Regions from separate parts of the Homo sapiens genome. Here regions 1, 2, 3 and 5 are each linked to region 4. The links are contacts of gene promoters, found by promoter capture Hi-C in human tissues and cell types (Jung and others, 2019). All regions are on one chromosome and are shown on one strand. Each heading gives the region's core, a stretch centred on a gene start or on the middle of the fragment in contact. The rest is flanking DNA. Distances are from core to core; before and after follow the strand shown. Region 1 overlaps MTRFR (mitochondrial translation release factor in rescue). Region 2 overlaps MPHOSPH9 (M-phase phosphoprotein 9). Region 3 overlaps PITPNM2 (phosphatidylinositol transfer protein membrane associated 2). Region 4 holds the start of RILPL1 (Rab interacting lysosomal protein like 1). Region 5 overlaps MPHOSPH9 (M-phase phosphoprotein 9).

The links. The method cuts DNA at HindIII sites, captures the fragments that hold promoters and counts their contacts. A contact is called where the count stands out against the background at its distance.
Region 1: a fragment that was not itself captured here is called in contact with the fragment with the promoter of RILPL1 in region 4 in 3 of the 25 tissues and cell types used here (IMR-90 fibroblasts, lymphoblastoid cells and spleen).
Region 2: a fragment that was not itself captured here is called in contact with the fragment with the promoter of RILPL1 in region 4 in 3 of the 25 tissues and cell types used here (dorsolateral prefrontal cortex, hippocampus and spleen).
Region 3: a contact is called between a fragment that was not itself captured here and the fragment with the promoter of RILPL1 in region 4, in 1 of the 25 tissues and cell types used here (dorsolateral prefrontal cortex).
Region 5: a fragment that was not itself captured here is called in contact with the fragment with the promoter of RILPL1 in region 4 in 1 of the 25 tissues and cell types used here (mesenchymal stem cells).

What each region holds. Positions count from the first base shown.
Region 1 is chr12:123,255,444-123,260,533 of GRCh38, reverse strand. MTRFR (mitochondrial translation release factor in rescue) reads right to left here. Exons shown (of 3, transcript NM_152269.5): 3 at 2,574-3,721. The coding sequence ends at 3,503. Among named protein-coding and RNA genes, the nearest start is that of CDK2AP1, 14 kb to the left of the region's middle. The HindIII fragment of the contact is 6,691 bases long and covers 1-5,035 here.
Region 2 is chr12:123,225,768-123,231,473 of GRCh38, reverse strand. MPHOSPH9 (M-phase phosphoprotein 9) reads left to right here. Exons shown (of 24, transcript NM_022782.4): 2 at 952-1,213; 3 at 3,858-4,011. The coding sequence starts at 1,110. Among named protein-coding and RNA genes, the nearest start is that of MPHOSPH9, 4.5 kb to the left of the region's middle. The HindIII fragment of the contact is 6,998 bases long and covers 865-5,706 here.
Region 3 is chr12:123,127,268-123,132,612 of GRCh38, reverse strand. All of the region lies in intron 1 of PITPNM2 (phosphatidylinositol transfer protein membrane associated 2), which reads left to right. Among named protein-coding and RNA genes, the nearest start is that of PITPNM2, 21 kb to the left of the region's middle. RefSeq lists an enhancer at 4,354-4,965. The HindIII fragment of the contact is 4,327 bases long and covers 1,916-5,345 here.
Region 4 is chr12:123,531,460-123,537,021 of GRCh38, reverse strand. RILPL1 (Rab interacting lysosomal protein like 1) reads left to right here and starts at 3,303. Exons shown (of 7, transcript NM_178314.5): 1 at 3,303-3,848. The coding sequence starts at 3,540. It overlaps MIR3908 (microRNA 3908), which reads right to left and starts at 613; the gene lies at 488-613. RefSeq lists silencers at 2,375-2,560, 2,580-3,269 and an enhancer at 3,485-4,302. The HindIII fragment of the contact is 25,082 bases long and covers 1-5,562 here.
Region 5 is chr12:123,166,044-123,171,681 of GRCh38, reverse strand. MPHOSPH9 (M-phase phosphoprotein 9) reads left to right here. Exons shown (of 24, transcript NM_022782.4): 17 at 4,893-5,027. Among named protein-coding and RNA genes, the nearest start is that of PITPNM2, 18 kb to the right of the region's middle. The HindIII fragment of the contact is 3,215 bases long and covers 1,211-4,425 here.

The DNA of each region.
Region 1 (5,090 bases), core at 441-2,940, 270 kb after region 4:
ACTCAGCAAGGCCATTTTTACTTCCCGCAGAAAGGGTACATTCGCCAGCAGTTTTGCCACGAGAGTACACCGAACAAAGAGACAGGGTCATTTGTAACCTGATGCGTCCACCCTACTGCTGTGTCCGGTTTCCATTGGCTGGAACGGGACCTCATATTCTGTATTTGTCCTGATTGGGAAGCAACTTAAAACTTTTTAAAAGAGGCGAAGGCAGAAGAGAACAAAGGAAGGAGAAAGTAACTTGTGGAATGGTGAGAAAGGTAAACACTTTTAAATAAGGAAGAGGAACAGGCTATGACCTAATGCTTGCTCCGACCAGTGTAAGCATGCCAGGACAAATATTTAGGCTAAATTGTGGGAGCTAAGAACATAAAGTACATTGATTTCTTTACCACGGCTAGCAGATAATTAGGAATGTTAGCACAGGTCTTTGAATAAATTTTGCTTCGAAGAGAAGTTACCGTTTATTCCAAATTAAATGGGGAGGAAAGTCTTTGGAGAGGAACCTCTACTTTACCTTTTACAAGAGGTAGGAGATGCCTGTTCAAACTGTATTTTCCCATCTGACACGGAAACATTTTGGTGATATCATTAGCACAGTTGGCTGGGGAAAGAATGTGTTTGCTAAGTCAGAGGTAGGGATAAAGTGAAGTTGCATTATGGGTGTATTTTAAGTGCAGCAAACTTAAGTGTATGCTAGGAAAAAAAAATAGCAGCAGCAGTTTTTAAAAAAAAAATTTTTTTTTTTTTAGATGGAATCTCCCTCTGTTGCCTAGGCTAGAGTGCAGTGGCTTGATGTTGGTTCACTGCAATCTCTGCCTCCCAGGTTCAAGCGATTTTCCCAGCTTAGCCTCCCGAGTAGCTGGATTACAGGAGCGTGCCACCACACCCAGCTAATTTTTGTATTTTTAGTAGAGATGGGATTTTACCATGTTGGTCAGGCTGGTCTCCAACTTCTGACCTCAGGTGACCCAGCCGCCTTGGCCTCCCAAAGTGCTGGGTTTACAGGCGTGAGCCACCACGCCCGGCCAGAAGCAGTATTATTGAGTTGGCCTGTTACCCCATGGTTAGGCCATTCTCAGTTCGTAGGTGCTTATCCTGTGGGCTTTTGGTGGGTGCTACAGGAATCTTTTTCATAAAGTACGGCTCCTAACTTCAAGCTACTTCATATGGTGCTCACTGGAAGAATTATCTGCTCTGGTGCCAGGGAAAAAATGGGCTGCACTGGATGTGTTGAGAGTCCACGTGGTGGTCTCTGACAGTGCCTCCCAAAGGGATTTTAATTCTTACTCTATACCTTAGGCCCTAAATACCTGCAATGAGAATTTGCTTTGCTGAGCAGTAGACAAAGACAAATGAGAGAGACTTGTCTTTCTTTGATGCAGGCATGAGGCGAATTCTCAGCCATGACAAGGCTGAAGGCCAGCAGGAACAGGCTCTAGCGAAATGGGTGCTGTGTCCCCTTCCTGCATGTGGCAGAAAGTTGCAAAGGTATGAGAGAGGAGACAAACGGAAACCATTCTCCCTTATCTCCAGCTCCAAATTTCCCCTCCCACTCTTACTGGTTTCTTAGGTGTTGTTCTAGAGCCTTTATTTTCTACAGGGCGTTTGGGCTGGGGAAGGGTCCTGTACACTCGCAACAGGAGGTGTAGAATGAGCCCTGCATTGAATGTGTAAGCATCCAAAGCTGTCACTGAGGTGAGAAGAGCCTTCATTGGCAGCCTCAAAGAGAAAGGTGTGCTTGGATGTATGCACTGGACATGCCACCTAGGCCTACTGGACATGCCGCCTAGGCCTGCTGGACAGACTGCACAACTGAGGCCCTGCAACTGGCAATCTCCCAATGGCTTTCTCACCTCTCAGCATTTTTCCCTATTTGTTTTCTACGTGGACTCCAGAAGAGTTCTAACAAGCCAAGCTATAAAGCATGGCTTTAAAAGAAAAACAACTGTAAGGTAAAATCCAGCTTAAGTGACGTAAATTTACAAGCAAATCAGATTCTGGAACCTCACCTTTACAAATCTTGCAAATCAACGTGCAGGGAATGTGTTTGTTTCTACATCAGAGGCACAACTGGGCATCATACAGCCTAGAAGCTAATAGAGCACATGGACAAGGAACAGAGCCTTTAGCTCTTCCAACCCTCTTATTTTCTCTCTTTTTTTTTTTTTTTTTAGACAGTCTTGCTCTGTTGCTCACGCTGGAGTGCAATGGCGCAATCTTGGCTCACTGCAACCTCGCCTCCCAGATTCAAGCAATTCTCTTGCCTCAGCCTCCCAAGTAGCTGGGATTACAAGCGTGTGCTGCCACGCCTGGCTAATTTTTGTATTTTTAGTAGAGATGGGGTTTCACCATGTTGGTCAGGCTGGTCTCAAACTCCTGACTTCCATGATCCGCCTGCCCCAGCCTCCCAAAGTGCTGGGATTACAGGCGTGAGCCACCATGCCCGGCCCTTGTTTTCTCTTACTGTCTTGAGCTGACATGGGGATAACTGACTTTTAAGTGTCACTGGGCAGCAGCTTCCCAGCAGATGGCAAGTTGCCAAGAAATGCTATTAATGTTTGACTCCATTCTCCAGTTCTCCATAAAAATTGACTTTACTAATTACAAAAAAAATTTTATTATTACAAAACATACAATCTCACAAAGGTACAATTTGAAATACGGGGACACCCTTCTAACTACCACCCAGGTGAAGAAACAGAACTTTGTCAGGCACCCCAGAACCCCTCCAAGTGCCTCATCACAATGACAACTCCTTCCCTCTAGAAGTAGCCATTATTCTTGTATAGTACTGACTGTGTTTCTTTATGGTTTTATCTTATTTTTTAGAGACAGGGTCTTGTTCTGTCACACAAGAACAAGTGGACAGGTGGAGTGCAGTGGTGTTCATAGCTCACTGCAATCTTGAGCTCCTGGGCTCAGGTGATCTTCCTGTCTTAGCCTCCCAAGGTGCTGGGATTATAGGCGTGTGTCATTGCACTTGAACTAGTTTTATTTTTTTTTTGAGATGGGGTCTCGCTCTGTCACCCAGGTGTTGCCCAGGCTTGAGTGCAGTGGCGCGATCTCAGCTCACTGCAACCTCCGCCTCCCAGGTTCACGCAATTCTCCTGCCTCGGCCTCCCGAGTAGCTGGGATTACAGGTGCCCGCCACCATGCCTGGCTAATTTTTTGTATTTTTAGTAGAGACGGGGTTTCACCATGTTGGCCAGGCTGGTCTCAAACTCCTGACCTCAAGTGATCCGCCCGCCTCGGCCTCCCAAAGTGCTGGGATTACAGATGTGAGGCACCGTCCACCGTGCCCAGCCGAGTTTTATTCTTGAATCGTGCATGTCTCTGTTCACTACAGTTTAGTGCACCATTTAAATAAATTTGTTGTCTTTTAAGTTCATCAAAAATATTTCTTTTGAAGCACTATAATAATGCTGGTGATGGAACTCGCCACCATTATTCCCTGGGAGCTTCTGGCAGATTCTGTCAGTTGGAATCTCTAATTCTTTTCTCAGTGGACCTTTTTACTTGACTCCCACAGTTCTTTAAGTAGCTTCTTTTTTTCCAGGGTTTCCTTTGCTCTTTTTTTCCTTTCTTGTTTTTTCTTCGCCGCTTCTCGTTTTTCTTTGTGAACAGGACTGTTTTCACCATTGTAGAAAACATCTACTTTCTCTTGTAGGATTTTCCGAGCTAGCTTTCTGTTCTGATCAACTGATCTTGTCTGATGGCACTGTAAGAGATAATATTTTATAATGTGAAAACCACAGGATGTTAAAAATGGACAGGACCTCAGAAGTCATTAAATTCAACCTGTTCGCTTTTTTATTTACTATTTATTTATTTATTGAGACAGAGTTTCGTTCTTGTCATCCAGGCTAGAGTGCAATGGTGTGATCTTGGCTCACTGCAACCTCCGCCTCCTGGGTCCAAGTGATTCTCCTGCCTCAGCCTCCCAAGTAGCTGGGATTATAGGCGCACGCCACCATACCCAGTTAATTTTTGTATTTTTAGTAGAGATGGGGTTTCACCATGTTGGCCAGGCTGGTCAGGACAACCTGTTCGCTTTATAGAGAGGGACAAACCTGGATGGCAAAGCCCCTTATCAGGAGTCCCCATGAGTCAGTGACAGTGAAGACCAGCCCCTTTCCTGCCTCTGCCCTGTGTCCCATACCCTTGCTGTATTATGTGGCTTTCAGTGTGATTGTTTTAATCATTAGGAGTGCTATTTTGTTTAGAAGCAACAGTGGCCTTCAAATAACTTAAAGTCGCAAAATAATTATGAAAGTATCAACTGATGTATCTAGCTTGTGGCCAGTTAACAACCACTTTGTGTGCACCATTCATAAGCATAAAGTTCTGTCTGAAGGAAGAAAATAGCATCTTTATTATTAGTCAGCCATAACTCATTCACTGTGTAATGCCTCAGTTATTATAGGGTGAGTGCCTTGCAAAGCTGTTTGATAAAAGATAAATCTTAAGCCAGGCATAGTGGCTCACACCTATAATCCCAATGCTTTGGGGGCTGAAACGGGAGGATCACTTGAGGGCTGGAGTTTGAGACCAGCGTGGGCAACATAGCAAGACCCCCCATCTGTACCAAAAATGTAAAGATTGGATGGCCGGACGTGGTGGCTCATGCCTGTAATCCTAGCACTTTGGAGGCCAAGATGGGTGGATCACTTGAGGTCAGGAGTTTGAAACCAGCCTGGCCAACATGGTGAAACCTTGTCTCTAGTAAAAATACAAAAAAATTAGCTGGGCGTGGTGATGGGCACCTGTAATCCCAGCTACTCGGGAGGCTGAGGCAGGAGAATTGCTTGAACCCAGGAGGCGGACGTTGCAGTGAGCTGAGATTGCGCCACTGCACTCCAGCCTGGGCAATAGAGCAAGACTGTCTCAAAAAACAAAACGAAACAAAAAACACTGAGTGTGGTGGGGCATGCCTGCAGTCCCAGCTACTCGGGAGGCCGAGGCGGGAGGATTGCTTGAGCCCAGGTGTTTGAGGCTATACTGAGCCATGATTGCACCACTGCACTCCAACCTGGCTGACAAAACAAGACCCTGTCTCTTAAAAAAAAAAAAATTCTATGAAATTAGGG
Region 2 (5,706 bases), core at 3,114-5,613, 310 kb after region 4:
TCCAGACAATGGGGAAGCTATGGTTGTTAACAGTTTAATTGGCTCTTTTTAATACAAATTAAATATTAAGTAGTTCAGTTCTTCTTGTCTCTGTATAAGTCAACAAACATATATACTTGGTAGAATTTATTAAACAAATGAACAAGGCATGCAAGTATTCCAATTGTTACATAATAGAATTATATCTAGAACTTTCATTGTAAAGCCTGGCAAAATGGTTTGCGCTATAATCCCAGCTGCTCGGGAGGCTGAGCACTTGAGGCCAGGAGTTGTAGACCAGCCTGGGCAACATAGCAAGATGCTGTCTCTAAAAAAAAGAACCTTGATTATTAAACATATAAAAATCTGAAATATTACCTGAAAAAGGTGATGCTACTTTTGCAAATAATCCTTAATGTAGATTTTTAATTGAGATACATAATTCACATACCATAAAATTCAGTCTTTTACAAGTGTACAATTCAGTGGTTTTTAGTTCACAAGGTTGTGCAGCCATCACCACTATCTAATTCCAGAATTTTTTATCACCCCAAAAAGAAACTCCATACCAGCTGCACTCACTCACATTCTCTCCTTCCCCAGCTCCTGGCAGCCATTTGTCTATGAATTTGCCCATTCAAGATATTTCATATCAATGAAATCATATAGTCTGTGGTCTTTTGTGACTGGCTTTTTTTACTTAGCATAGTATCTTCAGTGTTCATGTATGTTGTAGCATGTGTCTTTTTATGGCTGAATCCTATCCTGTTCTATGAATATGCTTCATTCGTTTATCCATTTATCCATTGATGGACATTTGGGTGGTTTCTACATTTTGATTATTATGAATACTGTTGCTATCCTTAATGGAGATCTGTATGAAAGCAGTTAAGGTTTCCAAAGTTATGTAAAAACAGTTGCTAGCTTTGGTGGCTTTTTATAGTAGTATTTTTTTCCCCCATTCATTTTCAGACTCTCTTGGAAGTTTAGGATATTTCACAGTTCTGAATGTTAGCCACTGAAAATGCCAGTAGATGATGAAGCCTCTGAAGATGACACGGATTCATTTTTCTCAAACAGCCCAAGAACCTTTATTTTCCAATAAGAGAATATAACAATTTCTGTACACTATGGAAGAGTTTGACTTGGTGAAAACCTTACACAAAACTTCATCTTCTGTAGGATCTGATGAAAATTCTCTTCATTCTCTTGGACTGAACTTAAATACTGATAGGTAAGAATGGGATTTAAAAAAAATGTACCAAATCAGAATAACCTTATTTGCATACGTTTATCAACTTATCCAAATAGTGTCATAGTTACTGATTTGAATTATTATTATTTTTTAACCTATCATCAAGAATGTTCAGGGAGGCTGGGCGCGGTGGCTCATGCCTGTAATCCCAGCACCTTGGTAGGCTGAGGCGGGTGGATCACCTGAGGCCAGGAGTTGGAGACCAGCCTGGCTAACATGGTGAAGCCTCGTCTCTACTAAAAATACAAAAATTAGCCAGGTGTGGTGGCACGCGCCTGTAGTCCCAGCTACTCAGGAGGCTGAGGCAGGAGAATTGCTGGAACCTGGGAGGCAGAGGTTGCAATGAGCCAAGATTGCGCCACTGCACTCCAGCCTGGGCGACAGAGCGACACTCTGTCTCAAAAAAAAAAAAAAAAAATGTTCGGGGACAGATGTTTAAGTCAGGAATAGGTTTGGTCTTTTCATGTTTCTCATTTCTCTCAGAGATATGTACTTTTGCATGGAAAGCATTCTGAAAAAGAACTTGTTTTGCTTGTTTTACTTTCCTTTATACTTTTTTGTTTGTTTTTGGTAAATTACAAGCATATCTTTAACATTTAGTTGCCTAAATATTATTTCTACATTTTTAAATGATTGGGACAATTGATGTTTTATGTTGCAGAAATACTTCACCAATGTGGGAAGTAGCAGTTAAAGTTGAGTATTAGGAAGTTAAGACAATAACAGACTCTAAGTAGACAAAATAGTGGACTAAATAGATGTTATCAAAGTGTGTTTTATGCATTTTATTAATTTTTTAAAATGCATTTTATTTTTAAGCTATCCTGTGATTGGTTTTTTATTTTTTAATGGTCTTAACACAGATCATGGTTTGTTTTTCATCAGAGCCTGTTTACTTTCAATTTGCACATAGTCTGACAAGCTTGGTTATTGGGTTTCTAAATTTATAGTAGTGTAGAAACAGCAAAGAGGCAAGGACTGTAAGAGAGGAGAGCATCTATAAAGAGCGGGTACAAGGAAGGAAAACAGCGGTTTTGGGGCCTTACTGGTAAAGGGGCAAGGAGCTTTAAACACGGTAGGTCTTGAAGAAATTGTGTATTATAAATAAATACATTACTTTAAAAGTTGTTAATTCTCTGCCCTTTTCAGGAGGAATTTAAGGCAGCTTACATGGGTATATAAAACAATGGGGGTGGGGAGTTGTAAAAAACAAAGGAATATGTGAAATAAAACGAGAAAAGGAAATTTTAAAAGGCACAGGAAATGGTCCTACAGTAATCTGTATGCACTTGCAGAAAGTTGGCCACGCATTTTGGTTCTTGTATTACTTGGTGGTCCCTTTAAAGTACACTTCTAGAAGATATTCCTGTTAGAACAGTGTTTGATTTGGCTGGAGGAAGCTAACTGTGCCTTGCTAGTGAAAATTAGGCAATTAAACTTGTCTTCCTTTTCATTGTGACTGGCAGTTAAATTGGCCACATTTAAACTTGATTATTACAGCTATGTAAAATCCTTTACTGATAACATATATTCTTTCCTTTGAATTTTTTTTTTTGACGGAGTCTTGCTCTGTCACTAGGCTGGGGTGCAGTGGTGCCATCTCAGCTCATTGCGATCTCCGTGTCCTGGGTTCAAGGGATTCCCCTGCCTCAGCCTCCTGATTGGCTGGGACTACAGGCACGCACTACCACACCCGGCTAATTTTTTGTATTTTAGTAGAGATGGTGTTTCACCATGTTGGCCAGGACAGTCTTGATCTCCTGACCTGGTGATCCGCCCGCCTTGGCCTCCCAAAGTGCTGGGATTACAGGCGTGAGCCACTGCGCCTGGCCTCCTTTGAATTTTTAGTAATATTTTCACTGGTCCTAACTATTATTTTATTGTTATTTTTATTTATTTTTTTAAACAAATTATTTGTGAAAGAAAGCAGGATATCAAGCAGTAAATAAATTAAAATGATCTTTTGGTGACTAGATTTTAAGTACATTTTAATGTCCTGAAATATATTGTGTGTTTATAAAACAAATCCGAAATAACTTACCTGAAGTTTGGAAAAGCAGTACTCCTGGAAAAACTCAGTGCTGTTTTACACACTGAGTAGGCTAAATAAGTCCTGAATATTTGCTGCTGATTTGCTTGGCACAACTTTTATGCAGAGATAGTGCAGAGATAAGCATCAGCTTATCGTACCAAATTAAGGGTGTCCAGTGAACAAGATTTGACTGTCATTTGGGGCAGTGGGGAAAGAATCCCCACTGCACAATGAAGGGCTGTTCTGAAAGTTGGGGGAAATAATCCTCTGGAATAGCTGAGATCAGAGAAGCTGGAAATTAATCTTATTGTTTAGCACAGACTTTTTCTATTTTCTGCCGATCCTTTGGAGTGTTCTCTCACTTCTGGAGAAGGTCTTCTTGTTGTGTTCTTAAAAAGAGTACAGTGCGGTCTTTTTACTGGCCGTTTCCTTTTGTGGAGCAACTTGTGATCAGATTTTGAACAAATGAGGTGCCATTAGAAGGATTAAATGTCAGTGGTTTTGTACTGCTCTGCTAAATCTTGAACTGCTGAATTATTCAACACTTTGATAGAATGAAGAAAACCATTTGAATTATTTATGTTTCAACAGAAGTAGTCCCCACCTTAGTACAAATGGGGTATCCTCTTTCTCAGGGAAGACCAGACCATCTGTAATTCAAGGTACAGTTGAAGTCCTAACTTCTTTAATGCAAGAGCTACAAAACAGTGGAAAGACTGATTCGGAACTTTGGAAAAACTGTGAGGTATCTAATTTTGTTTTATTTTTGGAATTTTAAAATAATTATGTTAAAACATACCTCTACTAAACTCTAAATTATTAGAAATTTATGTCCTGAAGAGCATGACACTTTTAAGTTAATGCTAAAGTGGTCAAGTATATTAATTTGGGAATGATATTGAATGAATGGGAAAAAGGTGATCAAAAGTATTTTTTAACAATATATTACTGATTAGACATACTAATTTGTATATTAAATATGAACTAAAACATTGTCTTGGTTCAGAGACCTGAGAATCCCAAAATTATTAAAATTGTTACTAATTGTAATGTTGTCAGTAACTTATATGGAATTGTCATCATTTTGAAAAACCTAAATCCACTTTGAAATATTTTCAATGTTCTAATTATAAATTGAAGCTTCTATTTAGTACCTTACCATATTCAGCTGTGATACATTGCATTATATTGTTTTCAGATCAGTGGTTCTTTCTTTGGTTCATAGGTTAAATTGTGATATAAAAATGTAACAGTTAAAAGAATACTTACATGGCCGAGCACAGTGGCTCACGCCTGTAATCCCAGCACTTTAGGCGGCCAAGGTGGGAGGTTTGGTTGAGGCCAGGAGTTTGAGACTAGCCTGGGCAAGATAGCGAGACCCTGTCTCTACAAATATAAATACATAAATAAATTAGCTGGTCATGGTGGCACGGTGTCTGTAGTCCTAGCTACTTGGGAGGCTGATGTGGGAGGATCACTTCAACCCAGGAAGTCAGGGTTGCAGTGAGCTATGATCACAGCACTACACTCCAGCCTGGGTGACAGACTGAGACCCTGTCTCTCTCTATATATAAAAAAAGAGAACCTGTAATCCCAGCACTTGAGGCAGAGGTGGATAGCTTGTGCCCAGAGTTTGTGACCTGCTTGGGCAACATAGCAAGACCCCCTCAGTAAAAAAAAAAAAAAGTATATATAAATTTTATTTCATAGGATAATGCTCAAGATAGACTTTCCTAAGGCTGGATTTGATAGTTTTTTATAGAAATGTTTAAACCATTATTAATTCTTAGAAAGCACTAGATCTTGTTTTAAACGTTAATTGTACTTTTAGAAGCATAATTTGTGTTATTTTTCAGAATGTAGAGTAAGCGAAATGAAAGATTACCTGGTTTAAGAATTCGATAGCAGCAACTGCTAAGTGTAATTATTTATATCCATTATCCATAATTATTGAAATTATAAAAAAGTATTATTATATGCTTAAAAAATTGAGTTTTCAGTTTTTATACTTTATGCTTGTTTGCATATAATAATCAGTATGCACTAACGTGAAAGACCTTTAAAAATGCCCATGCAAATGCAATTAAAAATGGAATGTTTTATTAAGTATATTAAATGCTTCCCTTAATGTATCTACTCATAAGCTTTTTGTTTATTTGTTTGTTTGTTTTTGAGACAGAGTCTTGCTCTGTTGCCCAGGCTGGAGTGCTATGGTGCGATCTCGGCTCACTGCCACCACTGCCTCCCAGGTTCAAGTGATTCTCCTGCCTCAGTCTCCCGAGTAGCTGAGATCACAGGCGAGCGCCACCATGCCCAGCTAATTCTTGTATTTTTAGTAGAGAAGGGGTTTAGCCATGTTGGCCAGGCTGGTCTCGAACTCCTGACCTCAGGTAATCTGCCTGATTTGGCTTCCCAAAGTGCTGGGATTACAGGCATGAGC
Region 3 (5,345 bases), core at 2,830-5,329, 410 kb after region 4:
GATAGTGGTGGTGGTTGTACAACATTGTGGATGTCCTTGATGCCACTAAATTTTACACTTATAAATTGTCAAAATGGTAAAAAAAAAAAAAGGGAAAGAAAAGAACAAAAGAATGACAACAAACAAAAATTTCAGGCTTGTAGGGCTGTTCATGAATACTGCTGAGAACCTCCAGTGGCTCTCGGGGCTGGACCACACCTGGCCCTGTGTTTATGGAGCCCTGGCTTTCCCAGACACTGGGAGAGGCGACCCCACACCTGTGGCCCAGCTGAGAGCTCCTTGCTCAGCAGTGTACCCGCCATGCTCTTGGGGGAGTGGAGGTGGGTGTTCCTGGCAGTTAACGGCCATGTCTGGTCACTGCGTATGAATGACATCTGTCTCTGCAACGCTTGTGCACCTGACGTTGGGCATGTCCTTATATGGCTCTCGCTTGCTCTCAGTGAGTGGAAAGATAAATACCTTTTCAAAGAGCAGATGCCAACTGCCTGCGGTCCCTGGCATCCACAGCTGCAGAGCGAGTGGGAGACAGTTCTGTCGAGAGGCAGGTGCTTCAGTCCTGGGGGAATCGGGCACTGGGTGTGCTGAGAACCCAACAGGCCTCATGCAGACAGCCTGAATGTGGAGCAGGGTTCTGCCACGGACATGTTGTGGGATCCTGAGCAGGTCACATGCTTTCTCAGAGCTTCTCTTTCCTTCCTGCCTCTGGTTGGTCCTGAGGTTTAAAGGAGAATGTATGTGAAAGGGCCTAGCACAGTTCCTGGCACCTCCCAGAGCTTGACAGGCACTTGGATTCATCCTTGTGTCTGGCACATGTGATGATCCCTTCCAGTAAGCAGTCACAGTTGGCTGGGGGCTGCTTCTTCCATCAGGACCTAGCACAGACACAGGCTAGGAGCTGCTCTGGAAGGGCAGTGGAAGGTGTGGCTGGCTGGCAGGGTGAGGTTCTGTGACTGGGGCAAGAGTAAGGGTGATGTCCTGGAGGGATTCCAGATGGAACCAGACTCTCCCTCTGCCTCCTGGAGCCTCTGCTCCTAGGGCAAGCATGCAGGGGCTTGTGCACTACCATATCTCTGTGTTAATTCCCTAGGGCTGCCATAACAACCCACCACAACTGGATGGCTTAAAACAATGAAAATGTATTCTCTAACAGTACTGGAAGCCACACATCCAAATTTTGGGTTTCGGCAGTTTGGTTGCTTCTAGAGACCGCAACGAGTATCTGTTCCCGGCCTCCCTCCTAGCTGCTGGTGGTTGCAGGCCATTCTTGGCATTCCTTGACTTGAAGACACATAATTCCAACCTCTGCCTAAGTTGTCACATGGTTGTCTCCCTCTGTGTCTATCTGCCTCTGTGACTTTTCTCTTATAAGGACACCAGTCATTGGATTTAGGGCTCACTCTACTCCAGTGCAACCTCACCTTAACTAATGACATCTGCAGTGACCCTATTTCCAAGTAAAGTCACATTCTGAGTTTCTGACAAGGATATGAGTTTTGGGAGGACATTCTTCAACCCATATAATCTCCATATTTGTTGAATGAATGAATGAATGTGAAAGCCATCCTCACATGTCTGCTCAGGTGTATTGATGTAGAATAGAAGGTGGGGATGTCTCTGGTGCCCTAGGCATGTGAGGGTGGGGTGGGGGACAGCACCAGGATCATCCCCTTTTCCTGTCCAAGCCTCTCCTATTTCTGGCCTCTACACCCTAAGCTTAGCACCCTGGCCACCTCCTGACTCAGCCAGTTTTTCAGGTAGAAGCAATTACATTTATTACAGGGAAGGCTGTTCTCACCTTCCTTTCTGCCCAGCATCTCAAAACTCTTTTTTTTTGAGATGGAGTCTCGCTCTGTCACCCAGGCTGGAGTGCAGTGGTGCGATCTCGCCTCATTGCAAGCTCCGCCTCCTGGGTTCACGCCATTCTCCTGCCTCAGCCTCCTAAGTAACTGGGACTACAGGCGCCCGCCACCACGCCCGGCTAATTTTTTGTATTTTTAGTAGAGATGGGGTTTCACCATGTTAGCCAGGATGGTCTTGATCTCCTGACCTCGTGATCCGCCCGCCTCGGCCTCCCAAAGTGCTGGGATTACAGGCGTGATTGCCGGGCCAATCAAAGCTTTCTTTTGTTTCTCTTCCCCTTCCCCTTGGAGCCAAGAAGGACACAAGGATGGCTCGGTGGCCTTGGGCAAATGACCCTGCCCCCAACCTTAGCTTCTGTTTGCAAATGAAGGAGGCAGAGCTGGGTGTTTCCAAAGGTCTTTTGCATCTATAATTATCTCTACTGTTTTACTGCTGAGATAATTGTGGGCCAGGAAAGTGTGCCCTTCCGTCCCACACAAGGCAGGACTGAAATCCATAGGCCCTCATTTCCAGCCTGTCCCCAAATGCTCTGTGCCATCTCCTGGAAGCCCTCTGGGATTAGCATGATTCATATGTGGTTCCCTGGGGTCCTCACTGTGCCCTGTGTGTGACACATTAATTCACAAGTACTACTGGCCTGGGCGACTTATCGAGACCCCATCTCTGCAGAAAATTTTAAAAATTAGCTGGGTATGGTGGTGTGTACCTGTAGTCCCAGCACTTGGGAGGCCAAGGCGGGAGGATCACTTGAGCCCAGGAGTTTGTGGCTGCAGTGAGCTATGATCGTACCACTGCACTCCAGCTTGGGCAACAGAGCAAGACCTCATCTCAAAAAAAAAAAAACGCAAAACAAAATTCACAAGTACTAGCCTGCCATTCAGATGGTATGCAGGAGTGTGCATGTTCATGTGTGTGTGTTGTTTTCCCCGTGTTCCTCTCCCCTCTGTTTCCTCTGTAGGCAAGAACTCTATGCATTTTTCTGTGTCTCTGTGTTCCCCCAGTACAAGTACCCAGCACAGGACTCATTATGCTGGGTTGTGGGCCAGCCTCAGAAACATAAATATTAGGAGATCTACTAAAAGAAAAAAGAGAAAAATATACAAATAAAACAACTACTGTGCTTTCAGTTGATGCCAGAAAAGCATTTGATAAAGTTCACTATCCATTTAATTTTTTTTTTTTCTTGAGACGGAGTCTCTCTGTTGCCCAGGCTGGAGTGCAGTGGCGCAATCTCGGCTCACTGCAAGCTCCGCCTCCCGGGTTCACGCCATTCTTCTGCCTCAGCCTCCTGAGTAGCTGAGACTACAGGCACCCGCCACCATGCCCAGCTAATTTTTTTTGTATTTTTAGTAGAGATGGGGTTTCACCGTGTTAGCCAGGATGGTCTCGATCTCCTGACCTCGTGATCCGCCCGCCTCGGCCTCCCAAAGTGCTGGGATTACAGGCGTGAGCCACCACGCCCGGCCTATCCATTTAATTTTTTTAGAGACAGGACTCCCATGTTGCCCAGGCTGGCCTTGAACTCCTGGGCTTAAGGGATTCCCCTGCCTCAGCCTGCCGAGTAGTTGGGACTACAAGTGTGCGCCACCATGCCTAGCCTCATTACTCCTTTTTTTGAGATTGAGTTTCGCTTTTGTTGCCCAGGCTGGAGTGCAATGGCAGTGATCTTGGTTCACTGCAATCTCTGCCTCCCGGGTTCAAGCAATTCTTCTGCCTCAGCCTCCTGAGTAGCTGTAATTACAGGTGCCCACCACCACACCTGGCTAATTTTTGTATTTTTAGTAAAGACGGGATTTCGCCATGTTGGCCAGACTAATCTTGAACTCCTGACCTCAGGTGATACGCCCTCTTGGCCTCCCAAGTGCTGAGATTACAGGCGTGAGCCCACTGGCCCCAGCCTCATTAATCTTAAAAACGTAGAGACTGAGGGATAGGCAAATATTTCAACATGATAAAGAATATCTCCCATCGGTAGCTACTTTATCTTTTTTTTTTTTTTTTGATATCGAGTCTCACTGTATTGCCCAGGCTGGAGTGCAGTGGCGCGATCTTTGCTCACTGCAACCTCTGTCTCTGGGTTCAAATGATTCTCCTGCCTCAGTCTCCCGAGTAGCTGGGATTACAGACGTGTGCCACTATGGCCAGCTAATTTTTTGTATTTTTAGTAGAGGCGGGGTTTCAACATGTTAGCCAAGATGGTCTCGATCTTCTGACCTTGTGATTTGCCCCCCTCAGCCTCCCAAAGTGCTGAGATTACAGGCATGAGCCACTGCGCCTGCCCCCCCACCTTTTTTTTTTTTTTTTTTTAACTTGAGACGGGGTCTTGCTCTGTCACCCAGGCTGGAGTGCAGTGGCGTGATTTAGCTCACTGCAACCTCCACCTCCTGTGCTCAAGTGATTCTCCCACCTCAGCCTCCTAAGTAGCTGGGACTACAGGTGTGAGCCCGCTTTTTTTTTTTTTTTTTTTTTTTTTTTTTTTTTTTTTTTTGTAGAGATGGGGTTTCGCCATGTTTACTAGGCTGGTCTTGAATGCCTGAGCTTAAGTGATCCCCCTCGGCCTCCCAAAGTGGTAGGATTATAGGCATGAGCAACCGCACTCAGATACTTTATCCTTAATAGTCAAATGCTCTAGTAGCATTTTCCAAAGTATGTTTGAGGAACACAGAATGCTCCTGGGTATTGCATCAAAAAAGCATTCCAGGGCCAAATAACATCTAGGAAGCACTGTTGCTCTAAGACACATTCCTTTTAATGTCTGTTGCAAGACAAGCATGCCTTCTCTCTCTTTAGTACTGTTCTTTATTCTAGATTCAAGCCAATGCAACAGGCTAGGAAAAAGAGGCAGGCTGGGCGCGGTGGCTCATGCCTGTAATCCCAGCACTTTGGGAGGCCAAGGCGGGCGGATCACGAGGTCAGGAGATTGATACCATCCTGGCTAACGCGGTGAAACCCCGTCTCTACTAAAAATACAAAAAATTAGCCAGGCGTGGTGGCGGGCGCCTGTAGTCCCAGCTACTTGGGAGGCTGAGGCAGGAGAATGGCGTGAACCCGGGAGGCAGAGGTTGCCGTGAGCCGAGATCACGCCACTGCACTCCAGCCTGGGCGACAGAGCGAGACTCCGTCTCAAAAAAAAAAAAAAAAAGAAAGAAAAAGAGGCAGGGCATAACTCTCAGATAGGAGGTTGCAAAATGAATGTTTTGAGTGGATACAGCCGTTGTCTTAGGTTTTCAAAGTAGACAAACTCAAAATTAATTAGAATAAGACAGTATGGCAGCCTGTTGCAAAATAAGTAGGCAAACACCATTGTTTTTCTATGCGTCAGTGGAAACCATTGTTGAATTTGATGGGTAGGAGCACCTCTAACACCTGTTTGCTTGGGCATCAACACGCCAGTGACCTTATTTTCTGGTTAGAAACAAGAGTAACACCCGGACAGTTCAGGCAGCTGCCAGCACCTCCTGGGTCCCCTGCGACCTGGACTCCCA
Region 4 (5,562 bases), core at 2,054-4,553:
AAGAGAGAGAGAGGGAGGGAGGGAGGGAGGGAGGGAGGGAGGGAGGGAGAGAGAAAGAGAGAGAAAGGAAAGAAAGAAAGAAAGAAAGAAAGAAAGAAAGAAAGAAAGAGAAAGGAAAGGAAAGGAAAGGAAGAAAGAAAGGGGAGGGGAGGGGAGGGAAGGGAAGAAGAAGAAAAAGAAAAGAAAAGAAAAGAAATTTAAACTGATGCTTTAAAAAATATTAATTAAAAAATAGTCCGGGAGGATGGCTTATGCCTGTAATCCCAGCACTTTGGGAGGCTGAGGCAGGCAGATTGCCTGAGGTCAGGAGTTCGAGATCAGTCTGGCTAACATGGTGAAACCCCCTCTCTACTAAAAATACAAAAAAATCGGCCAGGCATGGTGGCATGCGCCTGTAATCCTAGCTACTTGGGGGCTGAGGCAGGGAAATTGCTTGAACCTGGGAGGTCGAAGCTGCAGCGAGCTGAGATCGAGCCACTGCACTCTAGCCTGGCGACAGAGGGAGACTCTGTCTCCAAAAAAAAAAAAAAAAATTAGTAAACACATTACACGTTAACATAAATTTTTTTAACTTTTTATTTTTTTAGAAACAGTCTACCTACATTGCTCAGGCTAGACTAGAACTCTTGAACTCAAGGGATCCTCCCACTGGAGTAGCTGGAACTACAGGCTCACGCCACCGTGCTAGATAACGTATGAGTTTTTTTGTTGTTTTTGAGACAGGGTCTCCCTATGTCACCCAGGTTGGAGTGCAGTGGTGTAATCACAGCTCACTGCAACCTCTGCTCCCTGGGACTCAAGTCATCCTTCCACCTCAGTCTCCCGAGTAGCTGGGACTACAGGCACTTGCCACCAGAGTCGGGTAATTTTTATTTAATTAATTAATTAATTTATTTATTTATTTATTTTGAGACAGAGTCTCGCTTTGTCACCCAGGCTGGAGTGCAGTGGCACGATCTCGATCTCAGCTCACTGCAACCTCTGCCTCCCGGGTTCAAGTGATCCTCCTGCCTCAGCCTCCTGAGTAGCTGGGATTACAGGCGCCTGCCACCACGCCTGGCTAATTTTTTTTTTTTTTTGTATTTTTAGTAGAGATGAGGTTTCACCATGTTGGCCAGGCTGATCTTGAACTCCTGACCTCAACTGATCTGCCCCCCTTGGCCTCCCAAAGTGCTGGGATTACAGGCATAAGTCACTGCAACCAGACTTTTTTTTAAATAGAGACGGGGTTTTGCCATGCTGCCCAGGCTGGTCTCGAAATCTTGGGCTCAAGTGATCCTCCAGCCCTGGCCTCCCAAAGTGCTAGGATTACAAGCATGAGCCACTGTGGCCAGGAGTATTTATTTTTATTTTTTATTTTTCTGAGACAGAGTTTCGCTCTGTCGCCCAGTTTGGAGCATAGTGGTGTGATCTCAACTCACTGCAACCTCTGCCTCCCAGGCTCAAGGGATCTTCCCACCTCAGCCTCCCAAATACCTGGGACTACAGGCTCTCACCACCACGTCTGGCTAATTTTTTTATTTTACTTTTTTTTTTTTCTTTTTTTTTTTTGAGACGGAGTTTCGCTCTTGTTGCCCAAGCTGGAGTGCAGTGGCACGATCTTGGCTCACTGCAACCTCTGCCTCCCAGGCTCAAATGATTCTCGCGCCTCAGCCTCTTGAGTAGCTGGGATTACAGGCACATGCCACCATGTCTGGCTAATTTTTGTATTTTTAGTAGAGGCGTGGTTTCACCATGTTGGCCAGGCTGGTCTCGAACTCCTGAGCTCTAGAAATTTTCCCACCTCGGCCTCCCAAAGTGCTGGGATTACAGGCGTGAGCCACCCCGCCTGGCCTTAATTTTTTTTTTTTTACTATTTATTTATTTATTTATTGTATTATATTATTATTTTGAGATGGAGTCTTGCTCTGTCACCCAGCCTGCAGTGCAGTGGCGCGATTTCGGCTTGCTGCAACCTCCGCCTCCCGGGTTTAAGCAACTCTCTGCCTCAGCCTCCTGAGTAGCTGGGATTACAGGCATGCGCCACCATGCCCGGCTAATTTTTGTATTTTTAGTAGAGACGGGGTTTCACCACCTTGGCTAGGCTGGTCTTGAACTCCTGACCTCGTCCACCTCAGTCTCCCAAAGTGCTGGGATTACAGGCGTGAGCCACCGCGCCCGGCCAACTTTTAGATTTTTAATCAATACGTGCCACGTTGGGGTGCGCTTTATGGCTACAAGGGCATTAAGATTTCTTCCCTCAAGGAGCCAAGATCTGACGGTGGAAACCTACCTGCAACCACACGGTGAAAACTCAGGATGCTAAGAGCAATCCTGATGGGGCAAGCAGGGGACTGTGAGTTTGCAAGGGGGTCCTTAACTCCTGCGTGGGGGGCGGGGAGGGTGGATGGGGTTCTGGGTTCAGGAAACGTTCTCCCGGGAGTGGGAGGGGGTCTGATGGACAAGTGGATTTGGCCAGCCCAAATGGACAGGGGGCCTTGGGACAAGAGAACTCGTGGTGCTGGAATGCCAAGCGGGCTTCGCTCTACTGTGAAGTGGCGTTCATGTCACAAGGAGCCAGTGATGGATGTGGCTCGGGGAGGCGCGCCCTGGGGCTCCGGGGATCCAGCATTCCTCGACACGTCGGCCCCTCTCCGGGCGCCTCTGCAAGTCCGCCTGGTGGCCGGGTCTGCGCGGAGTGTCTGCGGGCCGGGGGGGGTCCCCGTTCTCTTCCTGGGATGAGCCCCAGCCCGGGGACCTCCTCGTGACCCCTCCATCCCTCTCCAAGGCCGGGGCCGCTACCCGGAGCAGCGAATCGTCCCGCGAGACCAGCGCCCCCGGCCCCCTCTCCCGGGGCGGCCTGGACCCCTCCCGGCGGCCGGGTGGTGGGAGGAGTCAGCGCCGGGCGGGGGAGGGGCGGCCGGGGCACGGGTGAGGGGCGCCGCGGGTCCGGCGGCTGGAGAGGGGGGCCCGGAGTGCAGGCCGCGGAGTCGGCGCTTGGGGGGGTACCCCGGGGCGCCCCCGGGCGGCGGAAAGCGGGCGCGCCCCTGGCCAGGCCGGGATTGGGGCGGGGCGCGCGGCCTCCCTGTGGGGAAGCGATCACCCGGCCTCGCAGCCGCCGCCGCCAAAGTTTCCCGGAGGAGCCGCGGGCCGCCCTTCCTCTCCGGCCCCGCGCTCTGCCGCCCCTCAGGCCCGCACCGCCCCGAGGCGCCCGGCCCGGCTCCATTGAGCGCAACTCGGATCCCAACTTGGGAGGCGCCGCGGGCCTGCGCACGCGCGCGCCCTCCCCGCTGCCGCCGCCGCCGCCGCCGCCGCCGCCGCCCACTCGGGAGCAGCTCCGGGCCGAGCCGGGCGCCCAGACCCCGGGCCCGCACACCCCGCGCCGCCGCCCGTGCCCGCGCCCGCGCCCGCCGCCCGCTGCCCGCTGCGCCCTCGCCCCAGCGCCCGCTGAGCGCGCCCGCCCGCGGCCCAGGCTGGGCCCGGCCGGCCCGGCCCTCGACAGCGGCAAGTTTGGGAGTTGCACGAGTTTGCGGGGCGGGGGACAGGCCAGGAGGGTGGCCATGGAGGAGGAGCGGGGGTCGGCGCTGGCGGCCGAGTCGGCGCTGGAGAAGAACGTGGCCGAGCTGACCGTCATGGACGTGTACGACATCGCGTCGCTTGTGGGCCACGAGTTCGAGCGGGTCATTGACCAGCACGGCTGCGAGGCCATCGCGCGCCTCATGCCCAAGGTCGTGCGCGTCCTGGAGATCCTGGAGGTGCTGGTCAGCCGCCACCACGTCGCGCCCGAGCTGGACGAGCTGCGCCTGGAGCTGGACCGCCTGCGCCTGGAGAGGATGGACCGCATCGAGAAGGAGCGCAAGCACCAGAAGGTGGGCGGCGGCCTCGGTCTGTCCGTCCGGGCAGTGGGACCGCGGGGACCCAAGGGCTCTTCCGCATTGGGCAGCTGTGGGTGCGCACGTGTGTGTGTTCAGGGACCGGACCAGAGGAGACCCGACGTGGGGAGGGAGGGAGGCCCTGGCCTTCTTTTGCCCGACCAGGGGTGGCTGGCAGATACCACCCGAGAGATTAAGAGCTGTTCTCTGGAGTTCCAATCCCACCTTTACCGTTTAATAGCTGTGTGACTTTAGGTAAGTTACTTAACCTCTCTGTGCTTTATTTCCTCACCTGTCAAATGGTAATCATAATAGGACCCACCTTAGAAGAATTAAATGGGACCATATAAGCTAAGTGCTTAGACATATTATTCTCTTCCAGACATGAAATAAGCCTCTTGGCCTCCCGAGTTACCAAGAAGATGTGACATCAGGCCCAGGACCCTTTCTTCATCCCCCCCCCCCCCAGTCTCCCCAGAGCAAAGGGAATGTGACCTCCAGCCACTGAGCTTCGTGACCCCTAGTCTTCGGGTTCATATTTGCAACTTTCTTCCCGGGACTCCCCTAGCTTATGAACCTGTGGTAGCCCGTGTTCTCTCCTCTGATTTTATCCTTAATCCTCACAGGACTCTATAGAGACTATCTTCATTTTACAGATAAAGAAACCGAGGGTCACAGTGGGAGGAGCAATTTGTCCCAAATTAGTGGTGAGAGAGTCCCAGCCCCCGTGTCTCCTCCCCACCCTGTTTGAATTGGGGGAAAGGGATGATTTGGGGTGGCTTTAAGGCTAAGCCTCTGCCCTGTGATCAGGAGTCTCTCTGAATCAGGGCCTCCCCACTGGGCCTGGAGTTCAGACGAGGTTTCTGGAGAAAAGGAAGTGAAAGACATGTGGTTTCCTGCCCTAACCTCAGCCAGGGATGCTCTTGGCAGCCCCTTCAGACTGAGAATGGGAGGAAACACCTTTCCTTGAGGGATCAGGGTGCCTGAGCAGTCTCCAGCTTGCTGTTCAGCCTCAGGAAATACAGATGGCCTCTCTGAACCTCAGGGGCAGGCCATCCCTTATTGTGTACTTTGATGGATCTCTGTGTTTTGGAGTAAAATAGCCAAAGCTGGGTCTGAACCCTTTACCTGAGGGCAGACCCACAGGTAGGTAACAGCACCATTGCCATGTTTGACTGTGCTCGTCCTCATGGGTCCCTATGCCCTAGGGGCAGGAAGGAAACTCAGGCTCCCAAGAGTTGAGCAGCATTTCCGAGGTCACTCTGGGAGCCTGAAAATGCTTTGACCTGTAATTAATTTCAAGACTCCTAGAAGCTAGGACTTTGGAGCTAGACAGCCTGGTTTCAAACCCTACCACTTGCAGGCTGTGTGATCTTGGGCAAATCACCCAGCATCTCTGTGCTTCAGTTTCCTCAGTTCTAAAATGGGATAGTAATAGTACCCCCATTAGAATGTGATGAGGTTTAAAGAGTTAATATAAATACATATAAAGTGTTCAGGACAGAGCCTGCCCATAGCAAGGGCTTTGCAAGTCTTAAAATTCTTTTTAGGCCTGGAGAGACATTCATTGAGGTGCTCACAGGCTCATATTAGGAAACCGTCCCCACCCCAAGCACCTCTACTCCTACCCTAGAGGCCTCCATCTCTCATAGAGGGTCAAGGAGGCAAGGGACCTTGGAAATTCTCTCGTGTGGCGCCTCTTATTAACAGG
Region 5 (5,638 bases), core at 1,569-4,068, 360 kb after region 4:
TGCTTCCCATGTTCAAGCGATTCTCCTGCCTCAGCTTCCCAAGTAGCTGGGATTACAGGTGCCCACTACCATGCCTGGTTAATTTTTGTATTTTTAGTAGAGATGGGGTTTTGCCATGTCAGCCAAGCTGGTCTCAAACTCCTGACCTCAAGTGATCCGCCCACCTCAGCCTCCCAAAGTGCTGGGATTATAGGCGTGAGCCACAGTTCCTGGCTGATATTTTATTTTAGAGACAAAGTCTCGCTCTGTCACCCAGGCTGGAGTGCAATGGCACAATCTTGGCTCACTGCAACCTTCGCCTCCCAAGTTCAACGATTCTCCCACCTCAGCCTCCCGAGTAGCTGGTACTACAGGCACGTGCCACCATGCCTGCTAATTTGTTGTATTTTTAGTAGAGACGGGGTTTTACCTTGTTGGCCAGGCTGGTCTCGAACTCCTGACCTCAAGTGATCCGCCCGCCTCAGCTTCCCAAAGTGCTGGGATTACAGGCGTGAGCCACTGTACCTGGCCCCGGCTGATATTTTGTATTTTTAAAGTGAACAGGAACGAATAAAGGAAAAGTATCCAGAAGATGAAAGAACTCTTACAAATCAATAAGAAAAAGATAACTTTCTCAACAAAAAATGGTAAAAGAATATAACAAGCAGCGCACAGATCCCTGATGGCTAATAAAAATGAGAACATGTTAATTGTCATGAAAATGCACATTAAAACAATAAGATACAATTCACACCATCGGACAGGTTATATTTAAAATTGAAACACTTTAACGTTTGGCAAAGATATGGAGAGACAGGAACTCTCAAAGTAATGATTGACAGTTGATACAGCTTGTCTGGAGAGTGATTTGGCAACAGTCAGAGAGGTTGAAGATGTGCACCAAATCCCACAGTTGCATGTTAAGATGTTTGCCTTAGAGGAATTTTCACACGTGTTAATTTTAGCATTGTCGAAAGGCTGCATATTAAAAACCATATTTCCACTGCCGGGAGAAAGGACAAATATATTCATACTATGGGTAAATGATAAAAATGAATAGAGCTTATATGTACTAACACAGATAAATTTCAAACATAATATTGAACAGAGAAAGCATTAAAGGCCAGGTGTGGTGGCTCACGTCTATAATTTCAGCATTTTGGGAGGCCAAGGTGGGGAAATTGCTTGAGCCCAGGAGTTTGAGACCAGCCTGGGCAACATGGCAAAACCCTGTCTCTACAAAAAATATAAAAAGTTAGCGGCTAGACACAGTGGCTCACGCCTATAATCCCAGCACTTTGGTAGGCTGAGGCAGGTGGATCATGAGGTCAAGAGTTTGAGACCAGCCTTACCAACATGGTGAAACCCCGTCTCTACTAAAAATACAAAAAAATTAGCCAGATGTGGTGGCACGCAGCTGTCATCCCAGCTACTCACAGGGCTGAGGCAGGAGAATGGTTTGAACCTGAGAGGCGGAGGTTGCAGTGAGCCGACATCGAGCCACTGTACTCCAGCCTGGGTGACAGAGCGAGACTCTGTCTTAAAAAAAAAAAAGCTGGGTGTGGTGGTTGGTGGTACGCGCCTGTAGTCCCAGCTGCTCGGGAGGCTGAGGTGGGAGAATCACTTGAGCCTGAGGGGTCGAGGCTGTACTGAGCCATGATCATGCCACTGCACTTTAGCCTGGGGGACAGGGTAAAACCCTGTCTCAAAAAAAAAAAAAGACATTTAAAAATGTGTATTAATACATTATGCCTTCTGTGTAATTAAATATATAAAAATTGGTCTTATAATTAAAAACAAATTTTGCAAGATCGGGCTGGGCACGTGGCTCACACCTGTAATCCCAGCACTTTGGGAGGCCAAGGTGGGCAGATCACTTAAGGTTAGGAGTTTGGCCAACATGGTGAAACCCCGTCACTTCTAAAAATACAAAAATTAGCTGGGCACAGTGGTGGGCCCCTGTAATCCCAGCAACTGTGGAGGCTGAGGCAGGAGAATTGCTTGAACCTGGTAGGCAGAGGTTGCAGTGAGCTGAGATCACGCCACTGCACTCCAGCCTGGGTGACAGAGGAAAACTCCATCTCAAGAAAAAAAAAAATTGGCAAGATCTTAGCATTTATTAAAACTGAGAATGGGTGAGTAGATGCTTGTTATAGTATTCTTTGTAATTTTCCAAGAATGTTTGAAGATTTTTTTTTTTTTTTAAGACGGAGTCTCGCTCTGTTGCCCAGGCTGAAGTGCAGTGGTGCAATCTCGGCTCACTGCAAACTCCGCCTCCTGGGCTTATGCCATTCTCCTGCCTAAGCCTCCTGAGTAGCTGGGACTACAGGTGCCCGTCACCACACCTGGCTAATTTTTATTTTGCATTTTTAGTAGAGACGGGGTTTCACCATGTTAGCCAGGGTGGTCTCGAGCTCCTGACCTCGTTATCTGCCCGCCTTGGCCTCTCAAAGTGCTAGGATTATAGGCATGAGCCACTGAGCCTGGCCCTGAAATAGTTCTTAATTTAAAAACTGGGCCGGGCGCAGTGGCTCACGCCTGTAATCCCAGCACTTTGGGAGGCCAAGGTGGGTGGATCACGAGGTCAGCAGATCAAGACCATCCTGGCTAATAACATGGTGAAACCCCATCCCTACTAAAAACACAAAAAATTAGCCGGGCGTGGTGGTGGGCGCCTGTAGTCCCAGCTACTCGGGAGTCTGAAGCAGTAGAATGGTGTGAACCCAAGAGGCAGAGCTTGCCGTGAGCCGAGATCGCGCCACTGCACTCCAGCCTGGGCGACAGAGTGAGACTCTGTCTCAAAAAAAAAAAAACTGAGGGAAAGAGTGACTGGAGTTGAAGTGAATGTAGATAGAAGAGGCAGCCTCTAAAATGTTTGGTTGTGAAAGGGGACAGAGAGAAAACAAGAGTTGTTTCATGGTTTCTGGTGTTTCTTTGAATTTGACTCAAAAGTTTCACCTGTCAACGAAGGTGGGATGGGAGGTTTGAGGAGGGTGGAAAGGGTGTGAGATAGTCATGTTTGGAGAACTGAAGCTTGCTGGTTACAGAAAGTCATGTTGCCGGCCGGGTGCGTTGGCGCACACCTGTAATCCCAGCACTTTGGGAGGCTGAGGTGGGCGGATCATGAGGTCAGGAGATCGAGACCATCCTGGCTAACACGGTGAAACCCCGTCTCTACTAAAAATACAAAAAAATTAGCCGGGCGTGGTGGCAGGCGCCTGTAGTCCCAGCTACTTGGGAGGCTGAGGCAGGAGAATCGCTTGAACCTGGGAGGCGGAGCTTGCAGTGAGCCGAGATCACGCCACCGTACTCCAGCCTGGGTGACAGAGCGAGACTCCGTCTCAAAAAAAAAAAAAAAAAAGAAAGTCATGTTGCCAGGCGGTCAGGCGGTTTGGGGTGTCCGCTTGAGGTGGTGATGAGTCTGCCCAGCTGGTGGCTTTTTTCCAGCAAAGCTCAGTGGTAGGAGTTGAGACCTGAAGCGCGGCCTTTGTAGTCAGCCAGTCCTCAGATTTTGCTGCCAGTCAGGTGTGGTGAAAGGTGAGAGAGAAAGTATCGTGAGTGTGGACTTCAGGGTAGATCAAGAGGACCTAGTCAGACTAGGAGGGGTTGATAAATGGAAAATGGAGAGGCCAAGGATCGTAGGTCACGTTGCTGAAGCTTGAGGGCGGGAGGCAGAATAGGGGCACAGTCTTTGGAGTATTGGTTTCTTAAGGGGAGTGTGTTCTCTGGTTTTGACAAAAGCCAGCAAGTACCCTCTGAGGTGGCTGGCTGAGGAGTAGAGGGTCACCTCACTGGAGAGAGTGGTCAGGAAGTTGCCTAGTGTGAGAACAGGCATAGGTGTGGAGAAAACAAGGCAGGCTCTAAAGTCTGGGGAATGACTGGGGGTTAACATGATGGTGGGAACCTCAGATGAGCTGGGGGAGCAATGTCTAGAATTGCGCTGTTCAGTACAGTCCTGCCAACAGCCACTATTACTATTTAAATCAATCATGTCAACCTAAAATCAGTGACAGAGACTGACTCTCCAAAGAAATTTATTTGGAAATGTTGGGGGTTTGCAAGCTGGAGTACGCATGCTGTGGTGAACCATAAGCATGTCCAAAGGGGTTGGGACACAGGAAACTTTAAAAGACAAAGGGCAGTCCACAGTCCACTAAGCTATTTTAAAACAAAGACCACTGGTTACAGGAGCATGTTGCAGGCATTAGCATTAGCTCAGTGGTGGAGACATCCCTTGTTAGGGATGTTTCCTTGTACAAGCAGCTTATTATCTGGAATACTGTCGTTCTGAGGAATTCAGAATAGTTCCCATAATCAGCATCTGTGTGAGAGGCTGCTCCTTTGTGCCTCCCAGCTCCATTTTTTGGGAGTTTGACATTAGTGACTCCATTTTGATACTGAAAACTTTCATTATTAAAATTAACGTTTTATAATTGGTTCTTCAGTCTCAGCAGCCACATTTCAGGTGTTCAGTAGTGACACCTGACTTGTGACTGCTGCATTGGACAGTGCAGATAGCATTTCTGGTTTTGCAGAAGATTCTGTTGGACAGTGCTGGTCTGAAGGGAACAAGAAGGGCAGCCCTGCTTCCTTCAGCACTTTACCCTCAGCTACAGTAGGGGCACAGAGTGTAAAGGGTGTGAAATGCCTGAGAGACAGTGAGGGGAATGTTCAGAGCCGCAAGTACCTGAATCTTGACTGAGATTCAGAAGTAACAGAAACCTAGAACAACAGTTAAGTTGAATCATAAAACTGTAAAATAAATTGTATCCAAAATATAGATTGTTACATGTGATTTTTAAATTAGTGTACAAATGTGTAAATACTGTTTGAGAGCAGATTGTTTTATATGCACATGCAGTCTGAAATGAAGTGCAGACCTTTATAATGCCTGACCGTTTTCATTCTAATAGCACACTAGCAACTTCAGACGTCAGCAGGCGGAAATGGCTGATTCCAGGTGCAGAGTATTCCATCTTTACTGGCCAGCCTCTGGACACCCAGGACAGTAACGTGGATAACCAGCTGGAGGAAACCTGTAGCCTAGGGTGAGATAACTTTGCTAAAGATTCTATTTAGGGATGTTATGTTTTCTTAGAGATTTCAATTGCTTTTAAAAGTTTGGGAAGCCCTCTCTTTGGTTCTTTAATGTCTTAATTTTGAGAACCTGACTTTTATTTTACTTTGAAAGGCTACTACTTTTAGAATATTTTACTTCCATGAGCTCTGCCAAGCTTCCCCACCTGTGCTCAGTGGCACAGTATGGGTTTGTGATTAGGATAGGATGTCGATCCTCAGGCCAGGTGTGGTGGCTCACGCCTGTAATCCCAACACTTTGGGAGGCCAACGTGGAGGATCGCTTGAGCCTAGGAGTTCGAGACCAGCTTGGGCAGCATGACAAAATCCCACCTCTACAAAAAATAAATATATTAGCCGGGCATGGTGACATGCGCCTGTAGTTTTAGCTACTTGGGAGGCTGAGGTGGGAGGATTACTTGAGCCTGGGGAGCTCAAGGCTACAGTGAGCTATGATTGTGCCACTGCACTCCAGCCTGGGTGACAGAGTGAGACCTTGTCTAAAAACAAACAAAAGATGTAGATCCTCTCCCACTTCAGATGGCTCTGGCCAGCCCGAGCCCCGAGCCTGCGTGAGCAGCCT